Linked DNA regions of Homo sapiens: region 1 is linked to region 2. Evidence: promoter capture Hi-C in human tissues and cell types (Jung and others, 2019). All regions are on one chromosome and are shown on one strand. Each heading gives the region's core, a stretch centred on a gene start or on the middle of the fragment in contact. The rest is flanking DNA. Distances are from core to core; before and after follow the strand shown. Region 1 overlaps ZNF428 (zinc finger protein 428). Region 2 holds the start of GSK3A (glycogen synthase kinase 3 alpha).

Evidence for each region. Contacts are between HindIII fragments. The study calls those that stand out against the background at their distance.
Region 1: a fragment that was not itself captured here is called in contact with the fragment with the promoter of GSK3A in region 2 in 1 of the 25 tissues and cell types used here (dorsolateral prefrontal cortex).

Annotation. Positions count from the first base shown.
Region 1 is chr19:43,605,572-43,611,840 of GRCh38, reverse strand. ZNF428 (zinc finger protein 428) reads left to right here. Exons shown (of 3, transcript NM_182498.4): 3 at 3,734-4,617. The coding sequence ends at 4,224. Among named protein-coding and RNA genes, the nearest start is that of SRRM5, 3.4 kb to the left of the region's middle. The HindIII fragment of the contact is 8,844 bases long and covers 313-6,269 here.
Region 2 is chr19:42,238,153-42,244,328 of GRCh38, reverse strand. GSK3A (glycogen synthase kinase 3 alpha) reads left to right here and starts at 1,727. Exons shown (of 11, transcript NM_019884.3): 1 at 1,727-2,146; 2 at 4,187-4,374. The coding sequence starts at 1,864. RefSeq lists enhancers at 1-45, 1-441, 1,056-1,105, 442-1,236, 1,166-1,375 and silencers at 1,666-1,875, 1,906-2,185. The HindIII fragment of the contact is 9,309 bases long and covers 1-6,176 here.

The sequences.
Region 1 (6,269 bases), core at 3,485-5,984, 1.4 Mb before region 2:
GACCCAGGCCCTGCCTTCAAGGAGCCCATAGTCAGTGGGTGGGGAGGGGGGCCACTGCCCAGAGTGGTCAGGGTGTGATGGAGAGCAGTGCAGGGGCCGGGGAGCCCATACGAGAGAGACACTGACCGCTTGGGGAGTCAGCGAGGACTTCACAGAGGAGGTGACATGAGCTTGGCTTTAAAAAGGAGCAGGAGTTTTGCCAGTAGAGAAAGAAAGGGTCAGGCTGGGCGCGGTGGCTCACACCTGTAATCCCAGCACTTTGGGAGGCTGAGGCAGGCAGATCACCTGAGGTCAGGAGTTCAAGACCAGCCTAACCAACAAGGTGAAACCCCATCTCTACCAAAAATATAAAAATTAGCCAGGTGTGATAGCACACGCTTGTAATCCCAGCTACTTGGGAGGCTGAGGTGGGAGGATCGCTTGAACCTTGGAGGCGGAGGTTGCAGTGAGCCAAGATCACGCCATTGCACGCCAGCCTGGGTGACAGCGAGACTCTCTCTCGAAAAAAAAAAAAATGAACGGGTCAACCAGGTGGGCGAGGAGCAGAGGCCAAGGCTTTGGGGAGGGAGATCAGGGTCTTGGGGCCACTATCATCCACTCACCCACACGTCCTCTGCTGCGGACCCCAAGATCATACCTGCCCTTGAGGAGTTCCCAGTCAGATAAGGGAGATACCCTGGGGGGCAGCTGACTGCAGTCAGCTTCTAGGGCAGTAACAGGAGGAGGTGCTGGGGCAGGGGAAGCTGGAGAGAGACCTGGCTGGGAGCCTGGGGCTTCAGGGTGGTGGCTTCACAGAGGACAGAGTTTGTGCTGGGTCTTGAAGGATGAGTAGGGGGTCACCAGGTGGATAGAGTGGGGAACAGCCCATACCAAGGCCTCAGGAAACGATTGTTAAATGGCAGGAACTAGTAGGAGAGAGCTGCAGGGACGGATGTTCAGAAGGAAAGAGTTATAACCTGTTCTGGGCTGGTGATGCTGGGGACCCAGCAGGAGGGTGGTAAAAAAAGTGACTGGCTGCCTGGGATGAGGAGGTCTGGGACGGCCTCACCAAAGAGGAAGGCCTCCCACTGGGTCCTAAAGGATGGTGGGAAAAACTAGGGCAGGACATTCCCACCAGAGGGAGGAACAGTGTGTGTGAAGCCTCAGAAAAGGTTTGTCAAATTCCATGCAGAGATATCCATGCCATAAATATGTCATAAGTACTTTCTTTGCACAAAGGAAGTGTTTTAGATGCTGGGGCCACAGCAGTGAACCAGACAAAGTCCCAGCTCTCGGGGACAGGCAGTAAACAAACACACAAGTAAATGTTGAATGCAGTGAGTCAGAAGATGGAGAAAAATGAGCCGGCTGCGGTGGCTCATACCTATAATCCCAGCACTTTGGGAGGCTGAGATGAGTGGATCACTTGAGGTCAGGAGTTTGAGACCAGCCTGGCCAACAAGGTGAAACCCCGTCTCTACTAAAAATACAAAAATTACCTGGGCATGCTGGTGCGCCCCTGTAATCCCAGTTACTTGAGAGGCTGAGGCAGAAGAATTGCCTGAACCCAGGAGGCGGAGTTTCCAGTGAGCTGAGATCACGCCACTGCACTCCAGCCTGGATGACAGAGCGAGACTCTATCTCAAAAGAAGATGGAGAAAAATCAAGCAGAGTAAGGGGCGTAGGGAGTGCTGGGGAGTGGCCAGGGCGTCACTGAGAAGGTGACACTTGAGAAGAGACATGGAATGGAGAGTGACATCGGCAGAAAGGGTGGCAAAGACCCTGAGGCAGGTATGGGCCTGGGGTGTTGGAAGGTGAGGAGCCTGGTATGAAGAGCCTGTGGCCACTGTGATGACAGGAGCAAGGGCGGAGCACAGGGTGCAGTAGCAGGATCCTCTGGGTTCTGGGAGAAACTGAGGAATGGGGCTGGGATGGATACAAGGTGAGGCTTTTGGCAGGCTCCTACCACCAAGGCCGAAGAAGCTGGTACTTCCCACACCGTGGTCACAGGGACCCCATCCCCAACCATTACTCTGTGTGTGCGCCCCCATAATGGCAGCTGATGTCGCCCTTTTCCGTATATCAACTATAAATTTTTCCCCTTTTCTTTTTTTTTTTTGGGAACGGAGTCTTGCTCTGTCACCCAGGCTGGAGTGCAGTGGTTCAATATTGGCTCATCGCAACCTCCGCCTCCCGGGTTCGAGCAATTCTCCTGCCTCAGAGTCCTGAGTAGCTGGGACTATAGGCACCCACCACCCCACACTTGGCTAAATTTTGTATTTTTAGTAGAGACGGGGTTTCACCATGTTGCCCAGAGTGGGTCATGAACTCCTGAGTTCAGGCAATCCGCCCACCTCAGCCTCCCAAAGTGCTAGATTACAGGCCTTTTTCTTTAAACCTAAACTTGTCCTAGGCCTGTCCTTGATAACTGTGAAATCACAGTAATATATCTTACCTATAAATAAATGTTTTAATTCACCTAACTCTCTCTCTCTCTCTCTCCATGGCCACAGATATAAAAGTACATCTGTGTGTATGCATGTGTTTTAATTTGCACAAATACCTTTTCAAATGGTTGTCTCCCTAAAATGATCCAGTGTCAGCCATGGCCCAGGTTCAGCTTTTCCTGCCAGAGCTGTGTAACCACAGGGGAGTGAGTCGTCTAGCCTCCCTGTGCCTCAGTTTCCACATCCATCAACTGGGGATAGTAATAGTACCACCCTCAAAGGGTTGTTGAGGATTTAGTGAGTTAATGTATAAGAACAGGGCTCCTACAATAGCAAGGATGCTGTTGTTACTGGTGGGTTTTTACTACTCCGGCTTTGTCCTTCCTAAATGCCTCCCACCCCACCTCCCCATGGAGTTTTTGTTTTCTTTTGCAATCAATCGAAAGAATCAAATAATTTTTTTTTTTTTTTTTTGCTTTTTTCTAAGACAGCAGAGTCTTGCTCTGTCACCCAGGCTGGAGTGCAGTTGTGTGATCTCGGCTCACTGCAACCTCCGCCTCCTGGGTTGAAGCAGTTCTCCTGCCTCAGCCTCCCGAGTAGCTGGGATTACAGGCGCCCGCCACCACACCCAGCTAATTTTTGTATTTTTAGTAGAGACGAGGTTTCACCATGTTGGCCAGGCTTGTCTTGAACTCCTGACCTCATGATCTGCCCACCTTGGCCTCCCAAAGTGCTAGGATTACAGGAGTAATCTACCGCGCCCGGCCAAAAAAATTCTTTTTAAGTGGTGAGGTCTCACTCTGTCACCCAGGCTGGAAGGGAGTGGCGCAATCATGGCTCAAATGCAGCCTGGAACTCCTCGGCTCAAGTGATCCTCCCGCCTCAGCCTCCCGAGAAGCTGGTACTACAGGTAATGCATCACCAGGCCTGGCTAATTTTTTAATTTTTTGTAGAGACGGAGTCTTGCTATATTGCCCAGGCTGGTCTCAAACTTCTGGGCTCAAGTGATCTTCCCACCTTGGCCACCCAAAAGTGCTGGGATTACAGGCATAAGCCACTGTGCCCAGTCCTGTCCCATGCAGTTCTTGGAAGACATTCATTTGCTTGACACAAAGATACAGGGAATCTACTGGGTGCCAGTCTTGTTCTGTGCCATGGGGACTCATCTGTGGGGAAGGGAAGGGTAGTGTCTAGGCTATCCTTGTCATACTATGGCAAGTCTGAATGTGGGGATTCAGGGAGGGGACAGCTTGGCCTAGCCCTCTTTCCTCTGATACCACTGTCTTCCCCTGTCTGTCCCCCTCCAGGCCCCGAGCATTCCTCTGATTCAGAATACACTCTCTCAGAGCCGGACTCCGAAGAGGAAGAAGATGAGGAGGAGGAGGAAGAGGAGACCACTGACGATCCTGAATATGATCCTGGCTACAAGGTGAAGCAGCGCCTTGGCGGGGGCCGTGGTGGCCCATCCCGCCGGGCCCCCCGTGCAGCCCAGCCCCCGGCCCAGCCTTGCCAGCTCTGTGGCCGCTCACCCCTTGGGGAGGCCCCACCGGGAACCCCACCCTGCCGGCTCTGCTGCCCTGCTACAGCCCCCCAGGAAGCACCAGCCCCTGAAGGCAGGGCCCTCGGGGAGGAAGAGGAGGAACCACCTCGGGCTGGGGAGGGCCGACCAGCTGGGCGGGAGGAGGAGGAGGAAGAGGAGGAGGAGGGAACCTACCACTGTACGGAATGTGAGGATTCCTTCGACAACCTGGGGGAGCTGCACGGGCACTTCATGCTGCATGCCCGGGGTGAGGTGTAGGCAGAGCCCCCATACGGGGAGCTTGGCAGAAGGGGTGGGGTGGGAGGAGGGGGCTGAGGAAATTGGGGTTGTGACAGTGGTCATGGGGGATGGGGTACTGCCGGTCTGTGTTGTCTTAGAAGTAGATGTGTGATGGCCAGAATAAAAGCCAAAATCTGTATCTGTGTGTGTTGGTTCAGAGTGTGTGTGTGTGTGTGTGTATTCCCGCCCGTGTGTGTGTTTGTGTGTGTGTGTGTGTGTGTGTATTCCCCCTGGGCTCCTTCTTGGGGAACCTTGGGGTCTTTTGGGAAAGATAACATTTACTGCGTGCTTGTATTCGATGAGGTTTCCATGTATTTACTTACAGACCCCATAATGTAAAGGCTCTAATAATAGAATTTTGTTTCTCACTCACAAAATGGTGCTGGGTGAGTCATTTGGGGACCCAGGCCATCCCTTAAGCCTGTTGTCTCCCCCATGGTCCAGACTGGGTGGCCATAGCCTGGGTCCTGCTGGCAGAAGAGGACAGGATGCCTGGTGAGGTGCACGTGTTGTCTTACAAGCCCTGGCCTGCCAGGGGCACACACTGCTTCCATTGACACGCCTTTGCTGAGAAATTAGATATGTGGCCGCAGCTAACTGCAAAAACAACCTGGGAGAAGCAGTCTAGCCAAGCGCCCAGAAAGCAGAAAACAGTTCATGGAGGACAGCTAGGGCTTTCTGCCACATAGCCTAGGAACTTCCACAAAGAGGACTTTAATTATAATCACAGCTACGCTTTCTCAGCGCTTCCTGGGTATCTGGTGCCAGTCCAAGGGCTTTATATATATTGACTCATAGAAATGGTGCATCTAGGAACTTACAAAAATAGAACCTTAATGATAATTGCAGCTGCCATTTTCCCAGCACTTACAGAGTGCTGTACTTAATTTGCATGAGATTATCAGCTTCTTAGAATAACCCTGTGAGACAGGGATTGTGATCCATTAATTCATTTAACAAATATTTTTGAGTACCTGCTGTGTGCTAAGCATTGGGAACACAGCAGTGAATAAAATAAAATCGTTGTCCTCATGGAGCTTACATGGGAGTGGGTAGAGGCTGCTGGTGAAGACAGACATAAACAAGTAAGATACAGCATATGCCGGGTGCTGATAAATGCTGTGAGAACAATAAAGCACTGAAAGGAGGCCCGGCATGGTGGCTCACTCCTGAAATCCCAGCACTGAGGTGGGTGGATCGCTTGAGCCCAGGAGTTTGAGACCAGCCTGGGCAGCATGCCAAAACCCCATCTCTACAAAATACAAAAAATTAGCTGGGCTAACGATGGTACACGGCTATAGTCCTAGTACTAGGGAGGCTTAGGTGGGAGGATTGCTGGAGCCTAAGAAGTGTCGCTGCACTCCAGCCTGGGCAACAGTGAGACCCTGTCTCAAAAAAAAACCACACACACACACACACACACAAAAAAAAAACTGAAGGAAGGCCAGGTGCAGTGGCTCACACCTATAATTCCAGCACTTTGGGAGGCCGAGGTGGGAAGATTTCTTGAGCCCAGGAGTTGAAGGCCAGCCTGGGCAACACAGTGAGACCCCATCTACAAAAAATTAAATTAGCTGGGCTTGGTGGTGCATGCCTATGGTCCCAGCTATTCAGGATCACTTGAGGCTTGGAGGTTGAGGCTGGAGTGGCCTGTAATTGTGCCACTGTGCTCACTGCACTCTAGCCTGGATGATGGCAGGAATTTGTTGCAAGAAAAAAATTTAAAAAAGGACTGAAGGGAGAACTGTTCTGGAAGGAGGTTGCAATTTTAAAGAGTATAGTCCTCCCTGAGAAGGTGACAGATCTGAAGCCGGGGGGAGCCATGTACATCAATGGGGAAGAGCACTTCAGGCTGGAGGAGGCAGGAGCCTGCCTGGTGTGCCAAGGAGGCGAGAGCTGTAGGGATGAGGTCAAAGGGTAGCAAAGGACCAGCTCTTTACAGCCTTGCCAAAACTTGGGCTCAGAGATGGGAAGTACTAATTCGTAATTCACAGAAGCTTGGCGCCGAAGCTACTTTGAAAATA
Region 2 (6,176 bases), core at 478-2,977:
TCGCTTGAGCCCAGGAATTGGAGACCAGCCTGGGCAACATGGCGAAGCCCACCCCGCTACCCCCCACCACCCCAAAAAACAAACCAAACCAAATTAGCTGGGCGTGATGGTGCACGCCTGTAGTCCCACCTACATGGGAGGCTTAGGTGGGGGGATTGCTTGAGCCTGGGAGTTAGAGGCTGCAGTGACCTGTGATTGCGCCACTGCCCGCCAGCCTGGGCGGCAGAGCGAGACCCTGTCTCAAAACAAACCAAAAACTGAAAACTGAATGGTGGTTCAAGACAGGATTTTTTTTTTTTTGAGACGGAGTCTCACTCTTTTCGCCCAGACTGGAGTGCAGTGGCGCGATCTCGGCTCACTGCAACCTATGCCTCCCGGGTTCAAGCGATTCTCCTGCTTCAGCCTCCTGAGTAGCTGGTATTACAGGCGCCCGCCACCACACCCGGCTAATTTTTGTACTTTTAGTAGAGACGGGGGTTTCGCTATGTTGGCCAGGCTGGTCTCGAACTCCTGACCTCGGATGATCCGCCAGCCTCGGCCTCCCAAAGTGCTAGGATTACAGGCGTGAGCTACTGGCGCCCAGCCTGAGCCACAGCGCCAGGCCCAGAAATGACATTTCCGTCTTTTTAATGCTCCATTCAGCTTCCTGGTGCGAACCACATTGCTAGGAAAAGCTAGACTGTATCCGAAGACTAGTTAGTGTTCTGAGAAACCGCCGGGAACTTTGTTTCCCGAATCTTTGCAGAGTTGCGGTTAGAGAGGGGACATTTTTTCTTTCCTGATCTATGGTCACCTGGAACTTAAAGGTGCTTGGATCCATTTTCCAGCAGTCCTTGATCGACCTCGGCTCTTTCTTAAAGAAGGACCTGGGGGCGAGGAAGGAGGCGCTGAAACACTTTTAAGTCTCTCCAGGGAACTGCCGCAGTCTCTAACCTTTCGTTCACACGCCCCTGATGGTGGCCATTGGACTTCGCTTCCCGGCAAGCCTCCGCAGACTGGCCTCACAGAGGGTCAGGTCTGGACTATTCCCCAGCATGCTTGGAGCTCATGGGCGATCCCGCCCCCTCAGTCAATGGGGAGGATACGTCGAACTCCATTTCCCAGAACACACCAGGGCTCGCTGTGGCAACTGCACTGAGGCCTTGGTGCTGACTACACTTCCCGGCAGGGACTGCGGCCCAGCGTACCTGGAAAGAGGAGCGCGTAAACCTACTCCATTTCCTCGCCCATCTCCGGAACTGCAGTATCCACCTGGGGCTTAAAAACCACCTGAGACTCCATTTCCCGGCGTGCTTTAAAAATCGCTTTACACCTGCAATGCGGTGAGGGCGTGGCGACGACTCCATTTCCCGGCTTGCCTCACGGCCCGAGACCCGCAGGTTCACGCGGGCCGACTCAATTTCCCAGAGCGCACCGAGCTCTGGGAGGCATACACAGCTAATAGACTGAGTGAGTGGACTCCGTTTCCCAGCGTGCATCAGGCTCTCTGCTTCCTAAAGTGCTTCAGGGCTCCCCGTCGTACAGTCGGCTGACAGATTACCCTGGACTCCATTTCCCGACGTACAGCGTGACCCGTCATTCCCGCCCATCATTCCCGCGGTCTACTCTGAGGCTTTTGTGGACTTCATTTCCCGGCGTGCCACGCGGCTCTCTGTGCGGGCCGAGGGCGGTGACGGCGGCGCGGACGACAGCCGGACTGCATCTCCCGGCGTGCCCCGCGGCGGGCGCTGGGCCGGAGCCGGAGCCCAAGCCAGAGCGGCGCGGCCTGGAAGAGGCCAGGGCCCGGGGGAGGCGGCGGCAGCGGCGGCGGCTGGGGCAGCCCGGGCAGCCCGAGCCCCGCAGCCTGGGCCTGTGCTCGGCGCCATGAGCGGCGGCGGGCCTTCGGGAGGCGGCCCTGGGGGCTCGGGCAGGGCGCGGACTAGCTCGTTCGCGGAGCCCGGCGGCGGAGGCGGAGGAGGCGGCGGCGGCCCCGGAGGCTCGGCCTCCGGCCCAGGCGGCACCGGCGGCGGAAAGGCATCTGTCGGGGCCATGGGTGGGGGCGTCGGGGCCTCGAGCTCCGGGGGTGGACCCGGCGGCAGCGGCGGAGGAGGCAGCGGAGGCCCCGGCGCAGGCACTAGCTTCCCGCCGCCCGGGGTGAAGCTGGGCCGTGAGTACTAGTGGCGCCCGTGTAGGGTGGTGATTAGGGTTCCCAAAGCTCCTCAGACATCCATCAGATTCTTTCATGTGCTTAGATAGGAGCTCGAGGTCACTGTGCCTCCCCATACCGGGGATCCGAGCCCTCTTCCTCCCAGGAAAAGGAGTCTTGGGGTTACCATCTCTTGGAGATCAGAATTACTCGTGGATCAGAATTACTAACACTTAAAGAAACGGGTTACAAGTCTCTGTTCTTCCATTATTGAGGTCTTGGGTCCTTGAGCCTTAAGAACAGGTATCTGATGTTGCTATTCATTATAATATTGGATCAGAGGTCACAGTCGCTTGCAAATGGGGATCTAGGGTTATTGTCTCCTAAGAGAACAAGAATAAGACCAACCCCGAAAAAGAGGGATCTGCATTCCCTGTCCTTCAGAAGATGGGGATTTGGAGCGAATATCACTTAGAAGCAGGGCTTTGAGGTTACTGTGTTTTGTCCCCAAAGAATAGGGCCAGGCTTTCCAAACCTGGTACTCAGATCATCTTCCCTATTAAAACCAAGACCTGGCATCATTACCCACCCTAAATCTTGTTGAGCTGTACTGCCAATGGTGAGAATTAATAGTTACTGCCTTTTAGATATAAAGACATTGGGAGTCAGCATATCCTTCAAACCAAGTCCATAGTCCATGTTTTAAAATACATGGCTTGGTGTGTCTCCTTTAACAAAAATGGAATGGAGCAGGGTAGGTCACAGTTTCCTACAGAATATGGATCTAAGGTTATACTTTTTTAATAATTGTTCTAAGGTATGGTGTCATTGGCTCTGAAAAAAAAAAGTGATGTAGGGTTATCTCCCTCTGAAAGAACTTGTCACTGGCCCCTCAAAATGGATTTGGTGGCCGGGCGCGGTGGCTCACGCCTGTAATCCCAGCACTTTGGGAGGCTGAGGTGGGCGGATCACCTGCGGTCAGGAGTTCGAGACCAGCCTGGCCAACTGGTGGAACCCTGTCTCTACTAAAAATATAAAAAATTAGCTGGGCGTGGTGGCGGGCGCCTGTAATCCCAGCTTCTCGGGAGGCTGAGGCAGGAGAATCGCTTGAACCCAGCAGGCGGAGGTTGCAGTGAGTCGAGATCGTGCCACTGCACTCCAGCTGGGCAACGAGAGCGAAACTGTGTCTCAAAAAAAAAAACAAAAAAATGGATTTGGTTCATCAGTTACTCAAAGGGGTCACTATCCTCTAAGAATGGCACCAAGGTTTGCCACCATTTGAATAATGGGAATTGGGAATTATAGCTTTCCTTCAAAGGACTGAGGCTGGAATAGCTCCTTGATAATAAAGGTCAGGTTCATCATTATCATAATTTGGTGCTTGTCCATTAGGGACCACCCACATATAGTGAGGGGTCTGGGTCTCTGGACCACTCAGATGAAGAGGTCAGGTCAGTGTTTTTTTCTAACCTCAAAGTACCAAAAAGTGAGGGTCAGGGCACTGGCACTTATAGCAGGAGAGGACATTCATTTCTGTCACCAAGAACCAGTAAAGTTACCAGCTCTACAGGGGAGGACTTAGAGGTCAGTATCCTCTAGGCTGTGAGAGAGGTTAGTGCTTTCCTAAAGTAGGAGTACCTCAGGGTTACTGCTCCCTGAAGTGGAAGAGGCTCGGTCAAGCTTTCTCCAAATAGGAGGGGCCAGAGGGCAGTAGATCCAGAGTAGATGGAGTCAACATCTGATGTCTCCCAGTACCAAGATGGACCAGTGATCTGTTGCTTCCTAGAAGTAGAAATTTGGGGTTGCCAACCCTTGAAGCAGAGAGATTTAGGTATCAATATCCTCCTATGTGGAGGGGAGCAGGACTTAAGATTCCCAGAAAGGAAGAGGGGAAAAGTCACTGGGAAGGTCCCAGCATCCACCTTTCCTCAAAGAGGAGGAGGGGACAAAGAGGTCCCCAACGAGCTTCCTGCAGAGATTTCCCTTCCTCCCACAGCCCCAGGATAGGGTGATGCGCAGGCAGGATGGGTCAGTGGATCGTGTATCCCCTTTGTTCCCCAGGTGACAGCGGGAAGGTGACCACAGTCGTAGCCACTCTAGGCCAAGGCCCAGAGCGCTCCCAAGAAGTGGCTTACACGGACATCAAAGTGATTGGCAATGGCTCATTTGGGGTCGTGTACCAGGCACGGCTGGCAGAGACCAGGGAACTAGTCGCCATCAAGAAGGTTCTCCAGGACAAGAGGTTCAAGGTAGCTTGGGCGGGATGGGGACAGGGAGGTTTGGGGACTGGGTGTGACTGGTGGGAGAACCTGAGCCAGAGAGCTGGAGGCTTGGGTTTCAGAGCCATGGGCCAGAAGAGAAGGGGGAAAAGAGGAAATGAGACCTGTGAAAGATGGGAAATGTGGATCCCAGGAGAGCCCAGAGCTTTTACTGGGCATTTGCTCAATGTAAGTGCTTAATAAGCAAATTCTTGTTTAATTTACATAAAGATTCTCTGAGGGTAGGTACTGTGGTTATACCCATTCTAAGTGTAAGCTAAGTTTAAAAGCAGGGAAACAAACTCAGGTAAGAGGATTGCCTGAGGTCATAGAGCAAGTGCCCCAGTCAAGGCTGGAATCTGATTCCCAAACCCTCTACCTTAACCATTTGGTTACACTTCTTCCCAGGAGAGAAAGGGACCTGGCAGGGCTAGCGCGGGTGGTTCTGAAGGTCGCGCTCTTCCCAGGTGTTTGGCCAGCGCAGAATGGAATGGAGGTGCCCTGTGAGCTAGGAGAGGCTCAGGGAACTAGAAGGAGATGGAGGAAGTGGAAGTTGAGGAATAATTGGTGTTTAAGGGCCTGGCATTTGGAGCTTAGACTAGTCTGGATGTAGGAGAACTGAGCCTAGACTGGAAAGGAACCAGACCAGGGCCTCGGTCTTGGCAGGGAGGGCCCTTGGGCAGGAGGAGCTCCAGGGTGTCAGAATTTGATTGGAGTTGAGTTCCAGAAGTAAGAGGGATGTAGGGGCAGGGAGTTCCTAGGCCTCACTGAGGAATAGAGAATGGGGAAGAATGCTGAGACCGCATTCTGGGAAAAGTCCAATGCCTGGAGTCTGGGACTCAGGATCCTAGATAGAGTTCGAGGACCCAGATGCTTCCACGGGACCAGAGTGAGCTGGATGGCCACTACCTGTCTGTTGTTGCTTGTGCCAGGTAGGGGGGCAAGCCTCATGTGCCCATGCCTGATTTTTTTTTTTTGAGATGGAGTCTTACTCTGTCACCCAGGCTGGAGTGCAGTGGCACGATCTTGGCCCGCTACAACCTCTGCCTCCCAGGTTCAAGCGATTCTTGTGCCTCAACCACCTGAGTAGCTGGGATTGCAGGCATGGGCCACTATGCCTGGCTAATTTTTTTTTTTTGTATTTTTAGTAGAGACAGGGTTTTGCCATGTTGGCCAGGCTGGTCTCGAACTCCTGACCTCAAGTAATCCGCCCCCACCTCGACCTCCCAAAGTGCTGGTATTACAGGCATGAGCCAGCATACCTAGCCCTGATTTTTCAAGACAAACTGAAAACTGGATTTAGATGTGAAATCTTTTTTTTTTTTTTTTTTTTTTTTTTGAGACGGAGTCTCATGCTGTCACCCAGGCTGGAGTGTGGTGGCGTGATCTCGGGTCACTGCAACCTCCGCCTGCCGGGTTCAAGCGATTCTTCTGCCTCAGCCTCCCTAGTAGCTGGGACTACAGGCGTGTGCCACCACTCTCGGCTAATTTTTTGTATTTCTAGTAGGGACGGGGTTTCACCGAGTTAGCCAGGATGGTCTCTATTTTTTTTTTTTTTTTTTTAAGACAGAATCTCGTTCTGTCACTAAGGCTGGAGTGCAGTGGTGTGATGTCGGCTCACTGCAACCTCTGCCTCCTGGGTTCAAGCGCTGCAACCTCTGCCTCCTGGGTTCAAGCAATTCTTGTACCTCATCCACCTGAGTAGTTGGAATCACAGGCGTGCGCCACCATGCCCAGCTAATTTTTTTGTATTTTTAGTAGAGATGGGGTTTTGCCACGTTGGCCAGGCTGGT